2 separate regions of the Homo sapiens genome follow, and region 2 is linked to region 1. Evidence: promoter capture Hi-C in 16 types of primary human blood cells and fetal thymus (Javierre and others, 2016). All regions are on one chromosome and are shown on one strand. The core of a region is centred on a gene start or on the middle of the fragment in contact, and the rest is flanking DNA. Distances in the headings are between cores, read along the strand shown. Region 1 holds the start of CC2D1B (coiled-coil and C2 domain containing 1B). Region 2 holds the start of ECHDC2 (enoyl-CoA hydratase domain containing 2).

Region 1 (7,139 bases), core at 4,531-7,030:
TCTGTCACCAAGGCTGGAATGCAGTAATGGATCATAGCTCACTCCAGCCTTAACCTCCTGGGTTCAAGTAATCCTGCCTCAGCCTCCTAAGTAGCTGGGATTCCAGGTGTGGGCCACCATGTCCGTCTCCTAGGAATAAGTCTAATAAAGAGATGCAAGTAATCTCTAGATAGAAATCAATTCCAATCAAAATCTTGGCAAGGTTTCTTGTATGACTTTGCAGTTAATTCTAATATTTATATGGAAACCAACAACAGGCAATGAACATCTAAAACCTCATGAAGTACTGAGGCTGGGCGTGGGTGGCTCATGCCGGTAATCCCAACACTTTGGGAGGCCAAGGCGGGTGGATCACCTGAGGTCAGGAGTTCGAGACCAGCCTGATCAATATGGTGAAATCTCGTTTCTACTAAAAATGCAAAAATTAGTCTGGCGTGGTGGTGTCACCTGTAGTCCCAGCTACTTGGGAGTCAGGAGAATTGCTTGAACCCACCCAGGAGGCAGAGGTTGCAGTGAGCTGAGATCACACCATTGCACTCCAGCCTGGGCGACAGAGCAAGACTCCGTCTGAAAAAAATAAATAAAACCTAATATGAGGTACTGAAAAAAAACAGCCCCACCCGTGTACTAGTCCTGTCAGAAATGCTTGTCCTAAATTTACTGATGAGAAAATTATCAGACAAATCTAAATTTAGGGAGAAACTCTGCAAAGCAGCTGTTCAACTCATTGAAAATACTAATATCACAAGAAAAAAAACACAAAACATGGAGGAACTATTCTACACCAAAGGAGAATAGAGACATGAGAGCTAAATGCACTATATAAACCTTGACTGGGTCCTGGATTTAGGAAATATAAACAATTATAAACATTATTAACTATGTATTAGACAGAAGTATTTTGTAAGTGTTAAATTCCCCGAGCGTGATAAATTTGTGATTATGTAGGAGAATGCTGTTCTTAGGAGATTCATAATGAAATATTTATAAGTGATGTATTATGTCTGCAACTCATTCTCAAATCATTTAGCAAAAATATGTATTTCTATATTCACATATGTATTTATAATTACATATAATGGATTGAGGATCAATATCAATATTTTTAAAACTGCAATGAAAAAGAAAAAATGAGCCAGGCACAGTGGTTCATACCTGTAATCCCAGCATTTTGGGAGGCCAAGGCAGGTAGATCACCTGAGGTCAGGAATTCGAGACCAGCTCGGCCAACATGGTGAAGCCCCATCTCTACTAAAAATACAAAAATTAGCCAGGGGTGATGGTGTGCACCTGTAATCTCAGCTACAGGGGTGCTGAGGCAAAAGAATTGCTTGAACCCAGGAGGCAGAGGTTGCAGTGAGCCAAGATTGTGCCACTGCATTCCAGCCTGGGCAACAGAGCAAGACTGTCTCAGAAAAAAAAAAGAAGGAAAAAGAAAAAAATGGGTAAATAACAAATAAGTCATCCAAAGAAGAAACACGAATGACCAAGAAAATGGAAACAGTAAAAGAGGCATGCAAACCAAAACCATTTCACATCTATTAGAAAACCTTTCTATGGTTACACAGAACAACTGGGACCCCAATACCCTGCTGATGGAGGTGGAATGACTTTTGAAGATTATTTGGTGAATCTTAGCCTAGGAAATGCAAGAAATTGTATGAGCCAGTGTATTAGTCTGTCCTCGCGCTATGAAGAAATACCTGAGACTGCGTAATTTATAAAGAAAAGAGGTTTAATTGACTCACAGTTCCACATGGCTGGGGAGCCCTCAGGAAACTTAAAATCATGGTGAAAGGCACCTCTTCACAGGGCAGCAGGAGAGAGAATGAGTGCCAGCAGGGGAAATGCCAGATGCTTATAAAACCATCAGATCTCGTGAGAACTCACTCCTATCACAAGAACAGCATGAAGGAAACCATGATTCAATTACCTCCCACAAGATGCCTCCCAGGACACATGGGGATTATGGGATTACTATTCAAGATGAGATTTGGGTGGGAACACAGAGCCAAACCATATCAGCCAGTGTGATGGTTAATAGAGCATGCAGACAGCCTATTGTGGGACTATATATATATATACACATATATATATATACACACATATATATACACACACACACACATATATATATACACACACACACACACATATATATATATATATATCCTATTAGTTCTGTTCCTCTAGAGAAACCTGACTAATGCAGCCAGCAATTCCATTCCTAAGTATATGCTCTAGAGAAATTCACATACGTACACCAAGAGTCATATACAAAAAGTTCATAGCACTCTATAATGGTAAGCCATTGGGAAAGTGACTTATTTTCATGCTATGGAATCATAACAGAAATGAAAATCAGCTAACTAGATACAGTATACATGTCAATTTGAGTGAAGCTTACAAACAGGGTTGAGTAGAAAAAGGTTGAAGAATTACACTGTATGTAACCAATGATATAATTTTTAAAAGCTGGCAAAAAAAATACTATGTATTGCTTAAGGATACCTACACAGAAATAGAAATGCTCAGGAATAATAAACACTAAATTTAGGATAATGGGTACATCTTTGGGAAAGGGAGGTGTTGCAATATGGGAGATGTACAGGTAGCTCCAACTATGTTTGTTTTTCTTTTTTCACAAAAATCAGATAGTTTTATGTTGTAAAAACATTAGTTATTTGTCAAAGGTTATGTTCTTCCGTCTTCATCTGTCACCAGCTGTCAGCATCTCCTTTAAATATCGGTTTTTTCTTCATAATGACACCTGCATGTGGCTCGTTGGCTGTCCAGATATGGTTTACAACCTAAATGTATAACACTGTCAAACAAGAGCTCCATTGTTGTTTCACATGCCTGAACATGCTAAGTTAGTCCTAGTGTTTTCTGTACTTCTCGGCAGATCTTGGAGAGGCAATACTGGAATTTCTCATCACAGTCATTCTTGCTTTTGCCACAGTTCTCATAGCACCTGTCGTGTTAGTTGCAACACTTTGTCAGGGAAGGGATACCAATGTTAAGATGAACGCCAAACAGTGGAGAGCCACATCCATTCGGTGGGGAGGGTTTATAACCATAACGTGGGAAAGGCTTAGATCCGTCACTGCATTTATACTGGCAGAGACCGTCCTCGCCTCCCAGGAGGTCCAAGGCGGCGTTCAGGTACGTGTCTATCTTATGAACGCCGTTCCGGATGGTCTTCAGGGTGGCCCTCCAGTCGGTGGTCTAGGCCTGCTCCAGGCACCTGATAACAGCGGCCATGAGGAGGAGCAGGAGGGTGAGCGCGGGGCGCGGGAGAAGGGCCAACCGCGCAGCGCCGGGCTCTACGGGTCCCCGAGCCGCGGCGGGGGGCGCGTCCCCAAAGAGCCCCCGGGAAGCGCTAGGCAGCGGCGCGGGCCCCGGGGTTGCAGCCGCCAGCTCCATAACCACGCCTCCTTCCCGGCTGGCAGGCAGGGCCTCGCTGGCTTTACGTGAACCGCCTCGGGGAGGCAGCGCGGTCGCGGGGACGCGCCCGCTCACCTGCTTTTTTTTTTCCCTTAAACTGGTAATAGATGTCCATGTAGTTAATTCACACAACAAGGAACTATTGAGTGCCTACTATGTACCATGCACTGCTGTAGACACGAGACACTTGGAGAAGCAATAAAAAAATTTCTCCTTCTGGAGCTTGCATTCTAGTAAATGTTAAATATTGTGTATCTTTGTTTATATCTTAAATGTTTCATTATAAAAATTTTTAAATAATTTTAAAAGGAATGAGAAATATGGATGTGAAATCTCAATTTAAATATGGTAATGGGCAGGGCATGGTGGCTCACGCCTGTAATCCCAGCACTTTGGGAGGCTGATGTGGGTTGATCCCCTGAGCTCAGGAGTTTGAGATCAGCCTGGGCACATAGCAAAAACATGTTTCTACAAAAAAAAAAAAAAAAATGCTGGGCATGGTGGCACGTGCCTGTGGTCCCAGCTACTCAAGAGGCTGAGGTGAGAGGATTGCTTGAGCCTGGGAGGTGCAGGTTGCAGTGAGTGGAGATCGCACCACTGCACTCTAGCCTGGGTGACAGAATGAGATCCTGTCTCAAAAAAAAAAAAAAGAAAAAAAGTAAGCAATCAGGAGATGGAAAAGCCCTTTGTCCAAGTAAACTGGGAGATCGCTAACTAGAAAACATAATTTAAAAGTTCAAGGCATAGGCAGGAGAGGAGATGGCAATGTTTTAGACAGAAGAAACTAATCCAGCAGTTTAACTTTAAAATACATTTTAAAACTTTTTTTCCTTTCTCTTGGGTTTCAAGATACAACCTTGAAGCAAACTGCAAAAGCCTTTTCCCTTAGCTGTAAAATAGACCCCATATCCCTCCCTTTCTCACTGTATATACTCCCTTCACATTTATCTTACTGTATGCTAGTATTTAATTATCTGCCTTCTGAGAAGTTCCAAGGGCTAATCTTGAGACAGACAAACCAAGCCTGGAGACACAGCTGCAAAATTCCAAAGATTACTTCAAGGTGGCTAGTCAACAGCGGGGCCATTGTGGAGATGAGACCAGCCCACGCTCCAGGTAGGCTGGGACCCAAGATAGCCACCAGAACAAGACACACAGACGTTGTACTCTGTACAATTCTTGCATGCTTCCCATATCAAATTTTCCTTTTAAGCCGTTCTCTTTCCCCCCAAAATCGAAGTGGTTACTTTAGATGGGAATCTGGCCACTTCCCCATTACTCCGCTCTCGGTTTTTTTGTTTGTTTTAGTTTGAGACAGGGTCTCACCTTGTCACCCGGGTTGGAGTGCAGTTGACAGCTCATTGCAGCTTGGACCTCCGGGGCCACAGCGATTCTCCTGCCTCGGCCTCTCAGTAGGTAGGACTACAGGCACGCACCACCACACCCGGCTAATATTTGTAATTTTTTGTAGAGACAGGGTTTCGCCATGTTGCCCAGGCTGGTCTCGGACTCCTGAGCTCAATCTCTTGTTAACTGGACTCTGCAAGCCGCAGGGAGAAACGTGCTTTCCTTAGAAAACTAGACTAGAGCATATTTACTGATGCTAAAGAGGTTGGTTTTGTATTTCCCTGGGCAAATAATTCTCTCTGAGCCTCCGTTTCTTCTAGAGATGATGTCCATCTTGCAGGATTGAGAACTGGTATAAGCTCCATTATGAAAAGTGACTGACACAAGCTTGGCAGAAAACGGGTATACTCCGTTTCTCTCCTTAATATCCTCCATGCCATTTGATTGCACAGCAGGGTAGGCGAGTGAGAACTTAGTGTTAGACTCTGTAAAGTATTTAAGATGTGCAGCGAGCTCTGCCTGTCTGAAGTTTTCAACGGACCGGAAAAGGATACTTTCAGGTGCTGAATTATTAAGAAACATATGGTGGGCCCCATTTCCATTTCCCCAGGCTTAAAGGACATGGACAAGCAGGTGAGCCCCGCCCCTGTCTCTCTTCCAGGGCGGAGCTTGGGTAGGCCCCGCCCTCTTGCTCGGTGGGGCGGGGCGAGGGCTGGAGGCGGGGTAGGTCCAGCGAGCGAGCGAGCGCCCAGCGCCTCGGGCTGAGTGAGGGAGGAGGTTCGGTGGAGAGGCTGCAAGTGGGCGAGGGCTGGGCGCAGCGACCTCATTGGAGCCGGCCGGTGGACGCCCCGGCGGAACCGCCCAGAGTTCCTGTCCTGCGCTACCTACCCGAACGCGCCTGCGCGCTGCGAACCCCGCCCCGGTGTCACCTGTTGGAGCCCCCCGCCCGCGTAGCCGTGCACATGCGCACTGCCGGCCGCCGGCCAGTGGGGTCACGTGTTGCGCGCGAGCCACCTCCCCTGCTGGCGCTTCCTGTCGCTACCGCTGCGGCCCAGGGCCCGCGGGAGCCCAGGGCGGTGCCGGGTGAGACAAGGCCGGGGTTTGGCTCGGATTCACCGCGAGGTATGCCGCGTCCCCGCCCCTCGGCGTGGGGAGTTCTGGGGACCGCGGGGGTAGATGGAGGCGGCGCGGGCGGGGCAGGGCGGCGCGTCCCGCAGCGCGGGAGTGGGGGTCCCGTGTCGCCTCCCCCTACGGACTCCGTTGCCCACCTTCCGTGAGGCCTGGCTGTGTCATCGGGGCCGCAGCCTTGGAGTGTCTGGCCTCGCTTTCACCTGAGCCGGAGTCACTCCCGAAATCTGACACTCAGAGTCCCCCGGAGCGCCCGCCAGCTCCTCCGCCCGCTCCCCGCCGCCTCCACGCCCGTCAGCTGGTCTCCCCGCCAGCGCTGTGGCGAGATGCGCCGGCTTCCTGCCTTTTCCCCCTACCTTCTGTGCACCTCCCCTTTGGTGCCAGAATGGGGTTTCTGAAACACCGATACGATCCCGCCACTTCTTTCCCAGCGCCCTCAGAATAATGCCCAAACGCTTTTCGGCTTAGAGGTTTTCATATTCTGCCGCTTGCTCACATTTCCACCTCGGCTTGTGCATTCAGGCCTCACCGCTTATGCCCCAGTCATACCAGGCCTCAGGTTCCATTGTACAGGCCAAGCTGCTCCCCACTTCAGAGCCGTCAAGTGTTCCCTCGTCTTGGAATCCTATTTCCCTCTTTCCCCCAACTTCTTTGCGTGACTCAGCTCAGGCGTCACCGCCTCGAAGGAGGAGCCTTTTCTCCCAGGGCTGAAGAAGGGGTCACCTCAGGGCACCCATGGCCCCTGGGGCAACCCCGTGTAGTCCACCTCCACCCTGTAAATGGTCATTGAAGGCTGAGACCGTCTTAGGTTCATTTCTGCGCTCCCAGTGCCCAGCGCAAGGTCTGACACAGGAGGTCCTGTGAATAACTGTGAGATCTTTATGGGAATCAGAATGCTGAGCCAGCTTTCTCCAGAGCTCAGCTGTGAGATGGAACTTTGATGACATGTCCTTGGATGATGAAAATGTTCTGTGTGTGTGCTGTCTGGTCATAGCCCCTCACCACATATGGCTGTTAAGCACTTGGAATGTGTCTGTTGTGGCTGATGGACTGGATTTTTAGCTTTATTTCATTTTAATTCATTGAAATTTAAAATTAAATAGCCAGCTGTGGCTTCCATAAGCACAGCTTTAGAGCCTTTCTGAATTCTACCCAGCCTTCCACCCACCCTGAACCTAGAGTACTTCCCTGAATGTGCTTTTTAAATTTGAGTCCGT
Region 2 (7,139 bases), core at 3,026-5,525, 560 kb before region 1:
TACCCAGTCTAGAGGAGCTGCCATGCTAAGAGGGCGCGCAGACGCCTATGAGCTTTAGTACTGCCCGGTACTGCCGAGCACAGTAAGTGCAGGACAGAGGTAAGCACAGTGCAAGGCTCTAGGGGAAAGTCAGGAGGATCCGAGGCGTCCTGGAGAAGATCCGATCTGAACGGATCCTTTCAGGATGCACAAAAGTTAACAGGTGAAGATACACGGTACAAACAGAACAGAAGCAAAGCAACAGAGGCATCAGACAACTGCGTCCGGGGAGAAACGAAAGGCAGTTTGGCATTAAGGAGCATGCGGGCGATGAGGGGAAAACGGCCGTGGGAGCCTGCGGCGTCCGGGTCCCAAGCAGTCACTGGAGGGACAGAGGGAGGCCGGAATCTGCCACTCGGGCCGAGGCGCTGGGCATCAGGAGCGTTTCTCCTCGCCATCCACATCTGGAGCTGTCTCTGTGAGGGCTCCTGTGGGGGCTGTTCCTGGGAGGGCCGAGCAGGCGGCATTCGCGACCTGCCTCCCTCCGGGGCAAGCCAGCCCACACACCTCGGGACTCCGCTCAGAATCTAAAGAGGTGAGATCCTTGGATTATCTCGGGGCTGCTTCATGAACTCTGACCAGAAGAAAAGGGAAGGAGGAAGCAGAAGGCCGCAGGAACCAGCCCGAGACGCTATGACCCCAGAGATTCCGCAGAGTACAAGCCACCAAGTCGCCACGCCGATGACCCACGCGCGGAGCAGTCGAAGCTAGGAGACCGGAGGGACAGAGAAACCCAGGCACCGACCGCCCCCGAGCCTCAGAGGGCCAGCAGGGCCGCTGCTCGGTTTACCTTGGTCATGCCAACCCCCACCACGAACACCCGGCGCAGGGTCGCAGGCTCCCACGGGGAAGAGGACATGGCTGCACCAGTGCGGGACCGGGGCGGGCGCCGCGGACGACTGCCGGCACTGACAGGCGGAGACTGCACCAGAGCTCCCTGAAGCCCGAAGCCAGGGCCGCGGGCGGCAACACAGGCGCGTGAGAGTGCGCGTGCGTAGGGGCAGGAGGAGGGGGCGGGGTGGGGCGCGTCCTGTGGGGCGGGGAGCGTTCTCTAGCCCTTAGGCAGCCGAATCCCTAATTTGCGGACTTGGGCATGGGACTGAGTCAACCTGTCCCCATCTCTGATCCTGTGCTTAGGTTCTGTACGGTGAGCGGGAGTAGGCTTGCAGTGGGGCCTAAGACTGAGAGGAGGGGTTGGCCGGAAAGCGGACTCATGAAAGGTGACCCTGAGGAGAGCCGTTGGGGTTCGTGTTGGAATTGGCCTGTGTCCTGTTAGCGGTGGCAGTTGAGAGTGAATTCATGAATTTAAACTCACAGGACACCAAGAAAGCGGGGATGGGCAGGATCTCACACATGGATACAATGTCTAAATCAAAAAACCCAGGCTCCGTCACCAGCTGCGTGACCTTTTTAATCTTGTGAACAAAAGTTCTCCGAAAAGGAATTTGGAAGACAGAGACTTTATTCCAGCAAACCGGGGAGAAACAGCCTTCCATGTTTATTGGAGACCGGAGTCTCGCTCTGTCGCCCAGGCTGGAGTGCAATGCCGCGAACTCGGCTCACTGCAGCCTCCGCCTCCCAGGTTCAAGCAATCCTCCTGCCTCAGCCTCCCGAGTATCTGGGATTACAGGCGCGCGCCACCACGCCCCGCTAATTTTTGTATTTTTAGTAGAGATGGGGTTTCGCCATGTTGGCCAGGCTGGTCTGGAACTCCTGACCTTAGGTGATCTACCCACCTTGGCCTCCCAAAGTGCTGGGATTACAGGCGTGAGCCACCGCGCCCGGCTCCCCGGTTTATTTTATCTTATGTAAAAATGCAGATTCATTGAGCTAGATGAATGCATAAGTGACTATTTCTCTACCCCCCTCACATGTGAAGGTTGATCAAAGACTCAGAAGAATGCAACCGTTTGCCTCTTATCTACCCACATCTTTTTAAAATTTATTCATCTTTCCCCAATATCTGCCCCTTCCCCTATAAAAACTGAAGCCCTCAAAATCATCTTTGGAGAAAGGCACGGACCTGTCTCCAAAGATGATGCACGTCCTTAAACTTGGCAAAATTAACTTCTAAATTAATTGAGATCCGTTTCATATACTTTTCGGTTTGCAGTATCAGCATTTAGAAAGGCTCTCCTAGAAGATTCTAAGGATTGCTTCTTGGCCATTTGGCTAAGATCAAGTTTAGGAGATTCTAAGAAGCCCCCTCTGTGCTAAGTAAAGAACTACTGAGCTAGGACTAGACCAACTTAGTAAAATTGCTGCGCTCAGTGATGCACGCCTCCCATCTGCTCAGGAGGCTTCGGCAGAAAGATCACTTGAGCCTGGGAATTCAAGGCTACAAATGTGCTATGATTACACCTCTGAATAGCCACTGCACTCCAGCCTGGGCAACATACCAAGACCACGTCTCTAAAAAACCAAAACGAAACAAAAAAAAAAAAAAAAGAAAAACAAACACAAATCAGGGCACTGACATGTACAGTTGTTTCTTGAAACTGATGGACTGACAAGACAGCAATATGATTGGTGGATCAGACAAAGTTACCAACCTAATAGAACAACAAGTCCTAAGGTCAAGATTAATTGTTATGTAACAAATCCTGGCTGTCCACTGGATATTGCTTTCAAAATAAGAGTCCATAGAGGGCAGAGGGGATAGATAGTAATATAAAAGGTATTTGTTAATACCGAAAAGACTGAGAAAAAACACTTCCCTTTCCAATGTGAAGGACTAAATAATCCAAACTTTTCCCACTATAAAACACAGACTTTTCTAAGTCATTGGATGTGGGGCTCTGGGGTAGCCTGAGCTGTTTGTCCCACACCAAGATGCTTCAAAACATTATTAAAAATGTTTGGATCCCCATGAAGCCCTATTATAACCAAGTTTATCAGGAGATTTGAGTAGGAATGGGGTTAATGAGCCTCATCATTTATAAAATCAGGAGTACTGATAAAATAAGTAAAATATTGAAAGCTTCTCCACCTGCTTATGGTCATCACTAACCAGCTTCACTTAGCATGCACATGAAATGAAACATTAGTCGACCTGTGAATTTAAGCAAGCTATGTTAGAAAGGAACCTGGAAAATCACTGTACACTTATATAAGTACCACTTACTTTGTGGCATGAATAAGTATACCAAAAAAAAACACCCAGAAATGCCAGATAAAATACAATAAATATCATTTTAAGCTGGGTGTGGTGGTACGAGACTGTAATCCCATCTACTTGAGGAGCTGAGGCAGAAAGGCTGCTTGAGTCCAGGAGTTCAAGGCTGCAGTGAGCTACGATTATGCCTGTGAATAGCCACTGCACTCCAGCCTGGACAGCATAGTGAGACCTTTTCTGTTAATACAAAAAGACAAAAAGCAGCGAGGCACAGTGGCTCATGCCTGTAATCCCAGCACTTTGGGAGGCCAAAATGGGAGGATTGATTGAGCCCAAGAATTCAAGACCAACCTGGGCAACATAGCTCCCTATCTCTAAAAAAAAAGAAGAAAAAACAAGAAAAATCTTTTTAAATGGGTGGATGCCAGGCATGGGGGCTCACACCTGTAATCCCAGCACTTTGGGAGGCTGAGGTGGGAGGATCACTTGAGGCCAGGTGTTTGAGACCAGCCTGGCAACATAGGGAGACCTCTGTCTCTACAAAAAATTTAACAATGAGCCAAGTGTGGTGGCCCACTCCTGTAGTCCCAGCTACTCGGAAGGCTGAGACGGGAGGATCCCCTGAGCCCAGGAGTCTGAGGTTGTAGTGAACTGACTGCACCACTGTACTCCAATGTGGGCAACAGAGTGAGACCCTGTCTCAATAAAATAGAATACAATAAATGCATGGAATATGGAGGAGGGAAGGTTTTTCTTTTAATCTTATACCCAATTATAGTTTGTATGTTTTGTTTTTGCTTCTTTTTTTTTTTTAAGACAGAATCTCACTCTGTTGCCCAGGTTGGAGTGCAGTGGTGTGATCTCAGCTCACTACAACCTCCACCTCCTGGGTTCAAGCGATTCTTGCACCTCAGCCTCCTGAGTAGCTGGGATTACAGCTGCCCACAACCACGCCTGGCTAATTTTTGTATTTTTAGTAGAGACAGGGTTTCACCATGTTGGCCAGGCTGGTCTTGAACTCCTGACCTCAGGTGACCCACCCACCTCAGCCTCCTAAAGTGCTGGGATTACAGGCATGAGCCACCGGGCCTGGCTAGTTTGTATGTTTTGATTTTGTGTATATATTAGTTTTATTTTTGCTAAGGCATGTTTTTAATTTTTGTTATTGTGCTTTGTTTTCATTTTCATTATTTATTTTGAGTAAGTTATACTTAAAACAAAAATCAAGATTCAAAAAGTATAAAAGGGGCCAGGCATGGTGGTTCACACCTGTAATCCCAGCACTTTGGAAGGCCAAGGTGGACAAATCGCCTGAGCTCAGGAGTTCGAGACCAACCTTGGCAACATGGCAAAACCCCGTCTCTACAAGAAATACAAAAATTAGCCAATGTTGTGGCATGTACCTGTGGTCCCAGCTACTCAGGAGGGTGAGGTGGAAGGATCACCTGAGCCCGGGAGGCAGAAGCTGCAGTGAGCCAAGATACTGCCACTGCACTCCAATCTGGGCAACAACAACATCCTGTGTCCAAAAACGTATAACAGGTCAAACCGTAAAACTTGTCTCTCTTACCCTTATTCCCAGCCTCTCGGTTCTTCTTCCCTATCCTTCCAAAGATGTTTTATGTAAATACAATCAAATATACACATGCATACTCTTATCCCCCTTGTTAACACAAATTTTTGTTTTCTTTATTATTTCTTTCAATAGAGGTGGGGTTTTGCTATGTTGGCTAGGTTGGTCTTGAACTCCTGGCCTCAAGCAATCCTCCTGTCTCGGCCTCCCAAAGTGCTAGGTTCATGAGCATGAGCCACCAGACCCGGCCAAATTTTAGCTTTCTTTACACACTATTCTGCATTTTGACTTGTTTCATATACCAATAGATTTTGAAGATTGTTTCATATCAATGCATAAACAGTTTCCTGTGTTTTGTTATAGCTGCATAGTATTCAGATTATTGATGTACCTTTTTTTTTTTTTTAAGTAGAGATAGGGGCTTGCTATATTTCCCAGGCTGGTTTCAAACTCCTGGCTTCCAGGGACCTACCTGCCTTGGCCTTCCAAAGTGTTGGAATAATAGGGTGAGCCACCACACACAGCCCCATAATTTATTTAACCAACCCTCTATTGATGGATATTGAGACTGTGATATAGTTTGGGTGTTGGATCCCTCCAAATCTCACGTTGAAATATGATTCCCAATGTTGGAGGTGGGCCCTGTTGGGAGGTGACTGGATCATGGGGACAGATCCCTTGTGAATGGTTTAGCACCATCCCCTTGGCGATAAACTGGGACCTCCCCACCTAATTTTCTTGTTCCTATTCTCGCCATGTGACATGCTGGATCCCTGTCACCTTCAGCCATGATTGTAAGCTTCCTGAGGCCTCACCAGAAGCACATGACAGCACCATGTGCTTCCAGTCTTTTGCTATTATAAACAATGCTGCAATGTACAGCCATGAACACGTGTCATTTCACAGCTGTGTGGATTTATCTGTAGGTTAAATTTCTAAAATTGGAATTTCTGGGGCAATGAGCTTGTGCATTTATAATTTTGATATAAATTACCAGTTGCTTTTCATTTAAAGACATTCACATCAGCAATGTGAGAGTGCTTTGTATATACTGTGTTTAAGAGAATAATTTTTTTTTTTGGGACGCAGTTTCGCTCATTGCCCAGCCTGGAGTGCAGTGGCGCGATCTCAGCTCACTGAACCTGTGCCTTCCGAGTTCAAGTGATTCTCCTGCCTCAGCCTCCCAAGTAGCTGGGATTACAGGCGCCCGCCACCACGCCCAGCTAATTTTTTTGAATGTTTAACAGAGACAGGGTTTCGTCATGGTGAAACCCTGCCTCTACTAAAAATACAAAAAAAATTAGTTGGGCGTGGTGGCGCGTCCCTGTAATCCCAGCTACTTGGGAGGTTGAGGCAGGAGAATCGCTTGAACCCGGAGGCGGAGGTTACAGTGAGCCAAGATCAAGGCACAGCACTCCAACCTGGGCGACACAGCGAGACTCCGTCTCAAAAAAAAAAAAAAAAAAAAAAAGTGAGGCGCAAATGGGAGGTGAAGCAGTGAGGTTCGCAAGTGTAGACACGCTCAAGGGACTCATTAAATGTCATTTCATTTAAAAAATGAAATTGAGCATATGTGCAAGCAAGGTTCACACACCCCATTTAATCTTCACACCACCACGGGGTAGTCACTATTATCCCCATTTTACAGGATTAAAACACTGACGCTGGGAGGTTGACAGAGTTACACCAAATCACACAGAGGAGCTGGGCTTCCCCCGACCTCCTCCGCTCAAGTCTCCCTGTCCCCGGGAGGTGCGGAAGGAGGCAACAGACGCTTGGCCCATAGGTGGAGCAATTGGCGAAGGCTTCGCCCGACGCCGGAACTGCGAGCTCTCAGCGGGAGCCGAGACGGTGCAGGGCCGGAGAAGCACCTTCACTCCCAGCCTGCGCCCCGATGCTGCGCGTTCTGTGCCTCCTGCGCCCCTGGAGGCCCCTTCGGGCCCGCGGCTGCGCTTCCGACGGGGCGGCCGGGGGCTCAGAGATCCAAGTGCGCGCCCTGGCGGGTCCGGACCAAGGTAAATGTGCAGTTCCGGGGCGGCGCATGACGCGACTGGGACTAGGCCGGAGGCAGCGGGGGACCGGCAGGTGGGCCGCTCAGTGCGTTGAAGGATTCGATCCCCAGTCCCTCCCTCCCAGTTCTAGGCGCCCCAAACCGCTCCAGGCCTGAGAGGTGGGCGGCCGCCTTAGTGGCTCCAGACTCTAGCTGGGGGCGGGGGGCCTCTGGCAACCTCGGTCTCTTCAAAGGCCCTTTGGGGTCTTCCGACTGTGTGGAAGGGGGAGCGGGGTCCGCACGGGTAGGACTGGGCCCCGCGGCCCCCAGGCCAGGAGCGTTTAAGTGCGCGTTCCCCTCCCCCGCCAAGGGTCCTGGCCCGGTTCGGGGGCGGAGGCAGCGGAGCCAGTCCCAGTGCCCAG

Evidence for each region. Contacts are between HindIII fragments. The CHiCAGO score rates a contact against its expected background, and 5 or more counts as called.
Region 2: a contact is called between a fragment that was not itself captured here and the fragment with the promoter of CC2D1B in region 1, in 1 of 17 cell types (naive CD4 T cells). The highest score is 6.4, in naive CD4 T cells.

What each region holds. Positions count from the first base shown.
Region 1 is chr1:52,364,846-52,371,984 of GRCh38, reverse strand. It overlaps CC2D1B (coiled-coil and C2 domain containing 1B), which reads left to right and starts at 5,780. Exons shown (of 25, transcript NM_001330585.2): 1 at 5,780-5,916. It also overlaps the pseudogene PLA2G12AP1. RefSeq lists silencers at 3,179-3,258, 3,319-3,418, 5,401-6,030, 6,071-6,180 and an enhancer at 3,539-3,588. The HindIII fragment of the contact is 5,331 bases long and covers 5,184-7,139 here.
Region 2 is chr1:52,921,156-52,928,294 of GRCh38, reverse strand. ECHDC2 (enoyl-CoA hydratase domain containing 2) reads left to right here and starts at 6,555. Exons shown (of 10, transcript NM_001198961.2): 1 at 6,555-6,742. The coding sequence starts at 6,622. SCP2 (sterol carrier protein 2) reads right to left here and starts at 1,019. Exons shown (of 16, transcript NM_002979.5): 1 at 830-1,019. The coding sequence starts at 898. It also overlaps the pseudogene LOC112268226 and the pseudogene LOC100652967. RefSeq lists enhancers at 597-686, 697-756, 409-924, 6,170-6,852 and silencers at 977-1,256, 6,579-6,808, 6,657-6,835. The HindIII fragment of the contact is 2,507 bases long and covers 3,022-5,528 here.